Linked DNA regions of Homo sapiens: region 1 is linked to region 2. Evidence: promoter capture Hi-C in human tissues and cell types (Jung and others, 2019). All regions are on one chromosome and are shown on one strand. Each heading gives the region's core, a stretch centred on a gene start or on the middle of the fragment in contact. The rest is flanking DNA. Distances are from core to core; before and after follow the strand shown.

Region 1 (4,628 bases), core at 447-2,946, 320 kb after region 2:
AAGGAATTAAACAAGCAGGATTCTTGTGGCTCAAAAAGACCCCAGTGTTCGCTCTTACACGAACTATCAAATTTATCTGTGCAGCACTGCTATTCCGAGGGGAGAAAGGAAATATGACTGTCAGTATTTTCCAAATAACTAAAGTTAAAAAGTTTAAAATTTTTCAACCAGGCATGGTAGCTCATGCCTGTAATCCCAGCATTTTGGGAGGCCAAGGCAGGCGGATGGCTTGAGTCCAGGAGTTCGAGACCAACCTGGTCAACATGGTGAAACACTATCTCTACAAAAAATACAGAAAATTTTCTGGACATGGTGCTGTGCACCTGTAGTCCCAGCTACCCAGGAGGCTGAGGTGGGAGGATCACCTACACCTGGGAGGTTGAGGCTGCAGTGAGCTCTGATTGTGCCACCGCACTCCAGTCTGGGTGACAGAGTGAGAGTCTGTCCCCCCCAAAAAAAAAAGTTTAAAATTTTTCCTTTAAGAAACATTTTAAAGTGTAAGTCACTGAACTTGAGGATCAGACTTGGATTTTTGAATTCCAGAACTGCCAGTTTGAGTAGGCTTGTTTGACCATCACTTTCTCTTGCTTGTAAACTGGAGACAACAAATGTTTTTTAATGACTTCATATGAGAATCTAATAAAAAATAATTGATTTAAAGCTTCTAGCTTGGCACCTGGTGCATAGTAAGAGCTCAGTTAATGTTGATTAATTTTATTTAGTCTAAAACAAAGGTCAGTAAAATTTTTCTATAAAGGGCCAAATAGTAAATATGTTAGGCTTTGCAGGTCATATGGTCTCTGTCACCACTACTCAACTGACCATTGTAGTGAAAAACAGCCATAAGGAGTATTTAAACACATGAGTATGACTGTAAATAAAACTTCATGTGCAAAAGCAGGCAGGGAATCAGATTTGGCCTATGGGCTGTAGTTTGCCAAACCCTGGTCAAATTTGTTCCTTTTCACCTGTGTATTTCTGCTATTCATGCCTCTTCCCTCAGAGTAAAAGGTTTCCTTCTCCTGTCCTTTGCTGTCAGGCATGGGTTGTCTTTGAGGCCTCATTTTTCTTGCTAAGGCCATGACCTGTTGGAGACTTTCTCCATATTCTGTTGGCTTTCCAAGTCATTGGGCCTTACCCTTGCCCTGGTATCCCCCTTTCCTCTCCTCCTGTCCAGTTTTTGTAGGTAATTTAGTTGAGGCTTAAATGAAGTAATCAACATTTTTTCTGCAAGCATTTAAACAGCAGTATGTAAAAATAGAAATTATTTTGAGCTGGTGTGGTGGCACACACCTGTAGTCCCACTACTTAGAAGGCTAAGGCAGGAGGGTCTCTTGAGCCCAGGAATTTGAGGCTATAGTGTGCTATGATCGCACCTGTGCATAGCCAGTGTACTCCAGCCTGGAAAACATAGCAAGACTCTCTCTTAAAAAAAGAAAGAGCCAGGCGTGGTGGCTCATGCCTGTAATCCCAGCACTTTGGGAGGTTGAGGCAGGGTGGATCATGAGGTCAGGAGTTTGAGACCACCCTGACCAACATGGTGAAACCCTGTCTCTACTAAAAATACAAAAATTAGCCGGGCATGGTGGTGTGCGCCTGTAATCCCAGCTACTCGGGAGGCTGAGACAGGAGAATTGCTTGAACCTGGGAGGCAGAGGTTGCAGTGAGCTGAGATCGCGCCATTGCACTCCAGCCTGGGCGACAGAGCGAGACTCCGTCTCAAAAAAAAAAAAAAAAAAGGAAAGAGCCTTGTCCCAGTAGCAGACTTTCCTGTCACTTAAAGCTAGGTTAGAATGAGCACACACTCAGCTGGATGTTTTTCACTACAGATGAAAAGTTTGCTACGTTTGTTTACACAAATAATCAGGAATTATGAAATGCTGTGTCCTGGCAAGAAATTTTATTTCACTTACAAAAAAAAAAAAATGAAATTGACCTGTCTTCCAAAGGAGTTGAAAGATGTAGTGGGTCCCTCGGAGGTAGGAATTGTGTCTTCTGGTTCCTTTATAACCCTCTCACAGCATTTGACACAATTGGCTGGGACGTAAATGATAAATACTTGTTGAAATCATATTTAAAAAACACTGAAAACCACAGTCATTTGAGAGAAGAGGATCATTGTTGTTGAGTTTTTATCTCCATGATGTTTTATCAACCTCTATAATGCTATATGGCATGCAAGATATTAAAAGTGATATCTTTTCAGAGATGTCATCCACAAAAGATAAAAGTTAATTGTTGTTTTTGCTTTGTTTTTGTTAGCTGGTTTTTGTAACATATGGACCCATACCAATTTAACGTCTCTTTTTCTCAGATGGAGGCCAAAGTAAAGGGGACACTAAATTACCACGGAAATCTCAGTGACTGCCCAGCAAGCAAAGGAGACGAAATGTTTAGTTGACTGATGGAATCTACCTGATGGGAAAGTACTTATGTGGTCATAGGGCTGCTGTTTCTGTCGATGTTTACATTCTCTCGTCCCAAGCACTGTGGTGAGGAGGAAAAAGAAAAGAAAACATTACTTGAGCAAAGCCAGGTGCAGGAGGAAGAAATGCTTTTGTGCAAAGTTAGTGACCTTTGGTCTCTTCTAAAGAATGACAGAGTTACCGTATTAACAGACTTGAAAGAGACTCAGTTGTCAAACCCACAGAAATACAAATTTGATTTTTCCCGGGGGAGGAAGAAGGAAGTGAAGAGAATTTGGGTAAACTCCATCCATCCTGGGGGTTGGATCTGAACACTTACAGACATAATTGGTAATAAAAGGCATTAAAAACTGGAATTAGGCCAGTTTGTCAGGAATAATGATCATGTCTATTTGAATGGACTGTGTAGCAGATTTGCCACAAAAAGAAATAATAATGATTCTATCTCCGATAGACAGTAGCTGCATAGCACACCCTCGAAAATCCTGAACAAACTTGAATCTCCTCCAGTGTGTAGCAACTTCCCTCAATCAGTGGACTAAAGATCCTTCAGGAAAGTTATTTTAGCACAGTGATATATATTATTAAATCATCTAGATTTTTAAAAATCAGGAAGTTGAGCCTGTTGCTCTTAAGAGATGAAACCTAGATGTCCCCTTTTTGTAAAAGGGTCAATTTCATCTTCCGTTCAGAAGCAGGTACTTAACTCTTTTCTTCAGGTGATTTGTGCATCTAGTATTGACTGGTTAATTCTTATTTCCATTCTTGATGTTAAAATGTGACTGTGTTCACATTTTTCTCCTGAGAAATGGGGATCTTTACAGGGTTATTGCTTTGCTGCTTTTAGCCCTTGCAGCAACATAAACTCTAAGTTTCCCCAGTTCATCTAACTTCACAACTTCTCCTTCTGTTCTTTTAGCTAGTGGTCCTTCAGGTGATTATTAGCTATTGGTATAAACAGGTAGAAGTGTACACTATGTTTCTTCATTGGTCATTCAAATGGCATGAATATAGTTTTTGAATTTTTAAGATGGTATTTTAAAGGGAGGAATCACATTAGGATCACAATCACGACATATTTTTACTCCCTGTATCCAGTGTAGTGAAATTGTTTGGAGCATTTGAGATCCTAAAGCTTCACTATTTACTCAGTGTATTGGTATGTGAGTAAATCTGCAGAAAATAAGACTCCTTAGTTATTATAGCTTCCTTATGCAAATAGCATATTCAACAAAGGATGTTAAGGGAAAAATTTATGGTTCTCCTTGGATACATTTGATTTGATGGGTTTTTTTGCCGCATTATTCTAGTTTTTTAAGCTTCTGAATATTTTCATACTATATCAGAGAATGGTGTAAACTCTAAATGGTATAAGCTTCATCCATTTATAATGACACTAACCTAAAAAAAATAGACTGGTAGTGACAAGATTTATTGCATATGTGTTTATTATACATTACCCTATACCATTAGATTTACTCAATTAAGAGTATTAACCAGGCCCTTTTTTCTTTTATACACAAAAGTCCCAGATACCCTACAGGACTGTGAATAAATAACCACAGATCGGTTCAGATCTGTATGCCTATATTTTGACTTCAAAGTCACATTGGCTTGCTTCATAGCGAAAAAGTTAATAAATAACTGAAAACTTTAGTTCCAAGAACTTGTTACAGTAAAGGGAAAGGATTATTTCAAAGGAATCACTGATATAATTTCTTGACTCTAAGAATTTAGTTTATCAATAAAACAAATATGGATGTAGTATGAACCCCAGTAGATATTTTGGAAGGATACTGGGAGGATGTTGCAGAGAGGTTTGACTTGAATTCAGTATGTTTGATGAAGATTTGCTTGGTTTCAATTAAGGAAGCTTGCCCAATTTTTTTAATTTTTTCAAATGTAGTGGACCTCTTGCTTTTACGAAATATGAATAAAAAGGTCTTTGCTTCATACTAGGGGAAGTGATGGGATTTTCCTTTGGGAAGGTAGCCTTTGTTTTACTTCTCATACCACAAGAGAAGTCGAAGTGCGTATTAATTTCTCTTCCTGAATACTTGTATATATGTTTGTCTGTATGTATATATACATACACACATACATTCATATAAATGACTAGTTTGAGTCAAAAAATCATTTGAATTTCTTAAAACCATCAATTCTGAATCATGCCATATGAAGATCCCTGGTGACTGTCATCAT
Region 2 (4,815 bases), core at 590-3,089:
CACTCAGGAGATGGAAACCATTTATCTGCTGTGTCTTATGACAGATGAATCCACGAGTATCAGATGGGCTCTCTTTGTTGACTAAAGCCAAGAGACCCTTGACAATGATCTCTTCTCCTCTGGACACACAGGGCTGGAACTCGCAGGAGCAGGACTGAGACGGGAGGTCCTAGGTTAGAGTAAGGTGTTTGCACTAGCTGTATACTGCCTAAAAGAGACTCATTCTGTCACCCCAACCCTGGTTCCACCCAGCTATGGGAAATCTCTGCAGAGGCTTCAGGTGTGGATATGTCTATGGGCCAAGAGCGGGGGTGGGAGGCAGGGAAAGTGATGACTGTGACCTTGAGCAAGGCACTTCTCTGCCTTAGTTTCCTCTTTGGTAAGCAGAGTGGACCTGTTCCATGATCCCTGAAGTCCTCCCTGTGCTTCTATTGTACCATCCCCTCTAGGGCACTGGTTATAATTCTCACAGGTCCAAGGGACACCTTCAAATGTGTTCCAATTCCTCCCAGCCACTGAGTAGCCCTTTGGCCCTGCTCCCACGAGAAAGGAGGATTCGGAGCAGCGTTCACGGCTTTCTGGTTTTTGTTCTGTGTGCAGCAGCTCTCCACCCCTAGCTGCTCCTTCCACCTTTCCTTTTCCGCCTCAAAGTGGTCAAGTGCCTGTGCAGGGGCAATCGCTGGCCTGCAGTGTCAGCTCAGAGACGGTTTCCAGACCATCCTGTGTACAGGCTCAGGGTGGACAAATAAACATTTTGGAGAAGCAATAGGAATTAAATCATTTCTTCCACAACAAAACCCTTATGCTTCTTCATAAATCATGCCTCTTCATTCCATACTGATGAACAGTCACTAAATTGCATCTGTTATAAAAACAGCCCTTACTCCTTTCATGCCCAGACACTTAAGAATCAAAATATTTTCACACTCCATTGTACTAATAATGCCTTGCAGAAGTAATACCAATAGCTATTTCCCTGGAAAGATCCGTGGCCAGGGCGCTTTCCAAGAGGTTTTCTTTGAATGTTCTTTGTGTCCTGCTGTACGGGGGGACACGGCCGGCCTGCCCGCATCTGGGGGACGCTGGGCTTGTCCCGGTAATGCAATACTCTTTTAAAGCACACCTCGAATCCACCTCTTCGCCCCGACAATAAAGTATCTCAAAACATTCGATATGCCACATCATACAGCCTTGACAAAAAAGCACGCCGGTGCCTGCATTCTGCAGGAAAAACCAGGCACATTCTGAGATGAAGCCACCAGACCCGCTTCGGGTTCCATGGACAAGAGAACAGCTTTGCAGACCCCTTAGCAAGACCGGCCAGAAGCCGCTCGCTTGTTCGTTTTAATTATTTATTTCCCCCGTGCCTTTATTTGTTGGGCCCCAGAAGAATGGCAAAGCATCTTCCAGAAAGGACGGCGAGGGAGCTGGAGAATAAAAGAGGATGGGCGGGGAAAGCCGGGGTTTTGAAAACAGCAGCGATAAAGGCAGGCGGGGTCGCGGCCGCGTTCCGAGGGTCTCGGCGGAGCTTACCTGGGGCGCACGAGGCCGGCCGGGCCAGCAGCAGCAGCCAGAGGCCAGGAAGCAGCAGCCCCGGGCGGCGGCGGCGGGCGCAGCGGGCGGAAGGCCGTCGGCCGCTCGGCCCCGGGGCCAGCGCGACCCCGGCGCGGGGCTTCCCCTCCATGGCCGCGCCTCGGCGTCGGCGCCGCGCCCCCGGCATTCCCGGCCGGCGCCCCGGCCCGGCCTCGCGGCTCAGCGGCTCTCGGGTCCGGGAGGGGCGGCCGCTGCGGCTGCGGCTGGGACGGGGCGCCGCGCACCGGCGCGGAGGGAGGCCGGAGAGGCGGGGGCGGGCCGGGCCGGAACCGAGGACAGGGGCGCCAGCCGCACGCCCGCCTTGCCGCTCCGCCCCCTTCGGAGCCTCGGAGCCGCTGCCCGGCAACGCGCGGGCCCGGGCGCGGGACGGCGAGCACCCCCTCCCGGCCGGCCGGACGCCTGCCTGCCTGCCTGCCTGCCTGCCTGCGGGGCGGCCGGGGCAGCGTGCGCGGGGCTCGGCGCGGCAGAGGCGGCAAGGGCGGCGAGGCGGCGCGGCCCAGCCCTCCCCCAGGACCCGCCTTCCGGAGGGAGCGCGAGGGGCTCGGGGGGCCTGGGCCGGGCGGTGCCGCCCCGACCCGCACCCAACCCCGGGTCCCGCCGCGCGTTCCCCGGGGCGCCCGGATCAGGGTAGGCCGGCAAGCCGGGGGAGGGGTCCTCTCGCCTCCCTCGCTCCTCCTCTCCCGCCGACTCCTTGCGGGCAGCAGGTGTGTGGGGCGCCGCGCTCTCAGGACAGCCTCGGGGCCGCGGAGGGGACAAAGCCAGACAAAGTCGGGCTCCTGCGCTAGAGCTCAGCGTGCAAGGCAGGGGCGAGCAGAGCGCACGCAGCTCTCCCCCGCCTTCCTGCCTTAAGAAGGTGCGGCCACCTCTGCGGGTCTTCGGGAAGCGACCCTGCGCTCAGGGCCTGGGAGGCCCGCGGGACCCTGCACTTAGCAGGCCTTGAGCAGGCGGCTGCTGAAGCGAATGGGCGTGGAGCTGGGGAGACCCGCAAGGCCAGGCCGTTTTAGGGAAAGTGGCGCTCCTGAGAGGTGGAGAGAATGCCCAGAGAGCGTTTGAGGGTTGGAGTCCGCGGGGGGAATGAGGAACGGGAAGAAGGGAGTTGACATCTGTCAAGTACCTACTGTGTGCCAGGCACGTCACTCTGAAGACGCCCCGTGGCTTCAGGGTCTAGGGAGGAGGAATTGGAAGTTTTGAATCGTTGCATCCCACTGGCATTGTTGCATCAAGCAGATATTAACGGTGTGTGTGGGGGACACTATCTCGTGCAGAAAAACTATGGCAGACAGCGGAAAAGGTGAATCATTACACTGGCAGAGGGATCCTCGCGGCTATTCAGTCGGGTTCCCCTGCCAGGCCCAGCCCTTGAAGGGGCTGCCCAGCCTTGCAGCTCCAACTCTTCTGGACTCCTTGCCCTTGGCGAATAGTTCTTCCTAAGAATAGGACAGGGGCACTCTTCTGTAGGTACACACCTGGTCCTTACAGGTGGGTACTTGAAACCTGGTAGTTTCAAGGAAAATGAGAATAAAGGTTAAAAAAAGCTTTTGTTGATGTTCCTGGTGTTTTTACACGTTATTGTAACCCCCCATCATACAGCCCCTATGTTTATTACAGTAACTGCTCCTGTCTCCCAAAGAGGGTTCTGCGTGCACACCCAGGTAAGTACCTAAGAGAAACTGCCCAGATATGTCTGGTCCCAGGACACCATGGCCATAGATCTGGGACCTCTTATTCACACACTTATCTTTATTCTCTGAACTCTCTATAACAGCACATTTGACCACAAACCACTGCCTTCGTGCAACTCTTGAATGGTCTTGTCCTGTTGTGTTGTTTTATCTTTTATGAATTTATGCTTTGCACACACAGCCCCCACCCCACCTCCAATAAATTAATATGAAATTCAAATATGGTGCTATCCTGCTTAGGATTTCTCATAGCCCCAGTAAGCCCTCAGTAGACAATCGTTGGTTTGAGCCAGAGCATGCATTCCGCCCGTGAAGAGGTTCCATCTTCAGATTTGGCCTCAGCCTCCTGCAAGCTGCCATCTACACTAGACCCGTTGGTGTCAGAGAAAAAAGCCTCCCTCGGCCATGCGCGGTGGCTCACGCCTATAATCCCAGCACTTTGGGAGGCCAAGGCAGGCAGATCACCTGAGGTCAGGAGTTCAAGACCAGCCTGGCCAACATGGCAAACCCCGTCTCTAATAAAAACACAGAAAAATTTACCCAGGCATGGTGGCACGTGCTTGTAATCCCAGCTACTCAGGAGGCTGAGGCAGGAGGATCACTTGAACCCAGGAGGCGGAGGTTACAGTAAACCAAGATCACGCCACTGCACTCCAGCCTGGGTGCCACAGCAAGACTCCATCTCAAAAAAAAAAAAAAAAAAAAAAGGAAAAGAAAAAAGAAAGGAGTCTCCTTCTCCATTCTCTGCAAACTCAAAGACAATAGTGTTTGCCCTGCCATTAAGAGATTGATCAGCTGGAAGTAAAAATAAAAATTGGAACCCTGAGATACTAGAAATGACTCATGGACACCAAAGTGTCCGTGGAAAGTGAGGTCCCTAGGGTCCCTTAGTCTCCCAGCTCTGAAGGCATAAAACAAAATCTTACCTCTGTTAGGATTTAAGGCATTCTGCCTCCATGTCTGGGAAAATGTCTACCAGGCTCTGACAGTCCAGCTGGTAGGTGGTGTTACTCTGCAGACTCAGAGGGGATGAGTGGTCCTTGGAGGTAGGGGAGTGTGTGCAAATGTGTGTGTGTGTGTAAGATTTTAAAATCGATTTTAGAGATCATCTCATCCAATTCTCATAGATAAAGAAACAAGCCAGAGAGGTTAGTTTATTTCCATAAGGCTCAACTCCAACTGGAATTGTCGTCTCCAGTTAAACCACACACCCTCCAGGGGAGGGGGAAAATTAACCTGGGTCCTCGATAGGCTTACAATCTGGTTTGGAGACAGGGAGAGGTAGGCTCAGTACTATCCTTAGACCTAGACGAAGCGGGCCCCACTCTGGCCTTCTCAAACTGCACCTCTCTCCTCAGGACAGAGTCTGTGAAGCCCAGGAAGCACCCTCACCAGCAGCCCATCTTCCCATGCTCAGGTGCCCAGGACCCCAGAATCCTGCCCATTTCACCCCAGGCTCATCTTCAGGCCTATGTGGCCTCTTCCTCAAGTCCATTCTCCCAAGGCTGCACCAAGGGTGTGTCTGGTCCCACGGGGTAGT

What was found. The method cuts DNA at HindIII sites, captures the fragments that hold promoters and counts their contacts. A contact is called where the count stands out against the background at its distance.
Region 1: a fragment that was not itself captured here is called in contact with the fragment with the promoter of KIAA1549 in region 2 in 1 of the 25 tissues and cell types used here (spleen).

The regions. Positions count from the first base shown.
Region 1 is chr7:139,295,473-139,300,100 of GRCh38, forward strand. UBN2 (ubinuclein 2) reads left to right here. Exons shown (of 18, transcript NM_173569.4): 18 at 2,315-4,628. The coding sequence ends at 2,364. Among named protein-coding and RNA genes, the nearest start is that of TRR-CCT4-1, 43 kb to the right of the region's middle. The HindIII fragment of the contact is 3,914 bases long and covers 1-3,653 here.
Region 2 is chr7:138,979,550-138,984,364 of GRCh38, forward strand. KIAA1549 reads right to left here and starts at 1,840. Exons shown (of 20, transcript NM_001164665.2): 1 at 1,534-1,840. The coding sequence starts at 1,720. RefSeq lists silencers at 454-748, 1,588-1,717, 1,758-2,137, 2,158-2,287 and enhancers at 759-1,645, 2,268-2,617. The HindIII fragment of the contact is 8,726 bases long and covers 1-4,743 here.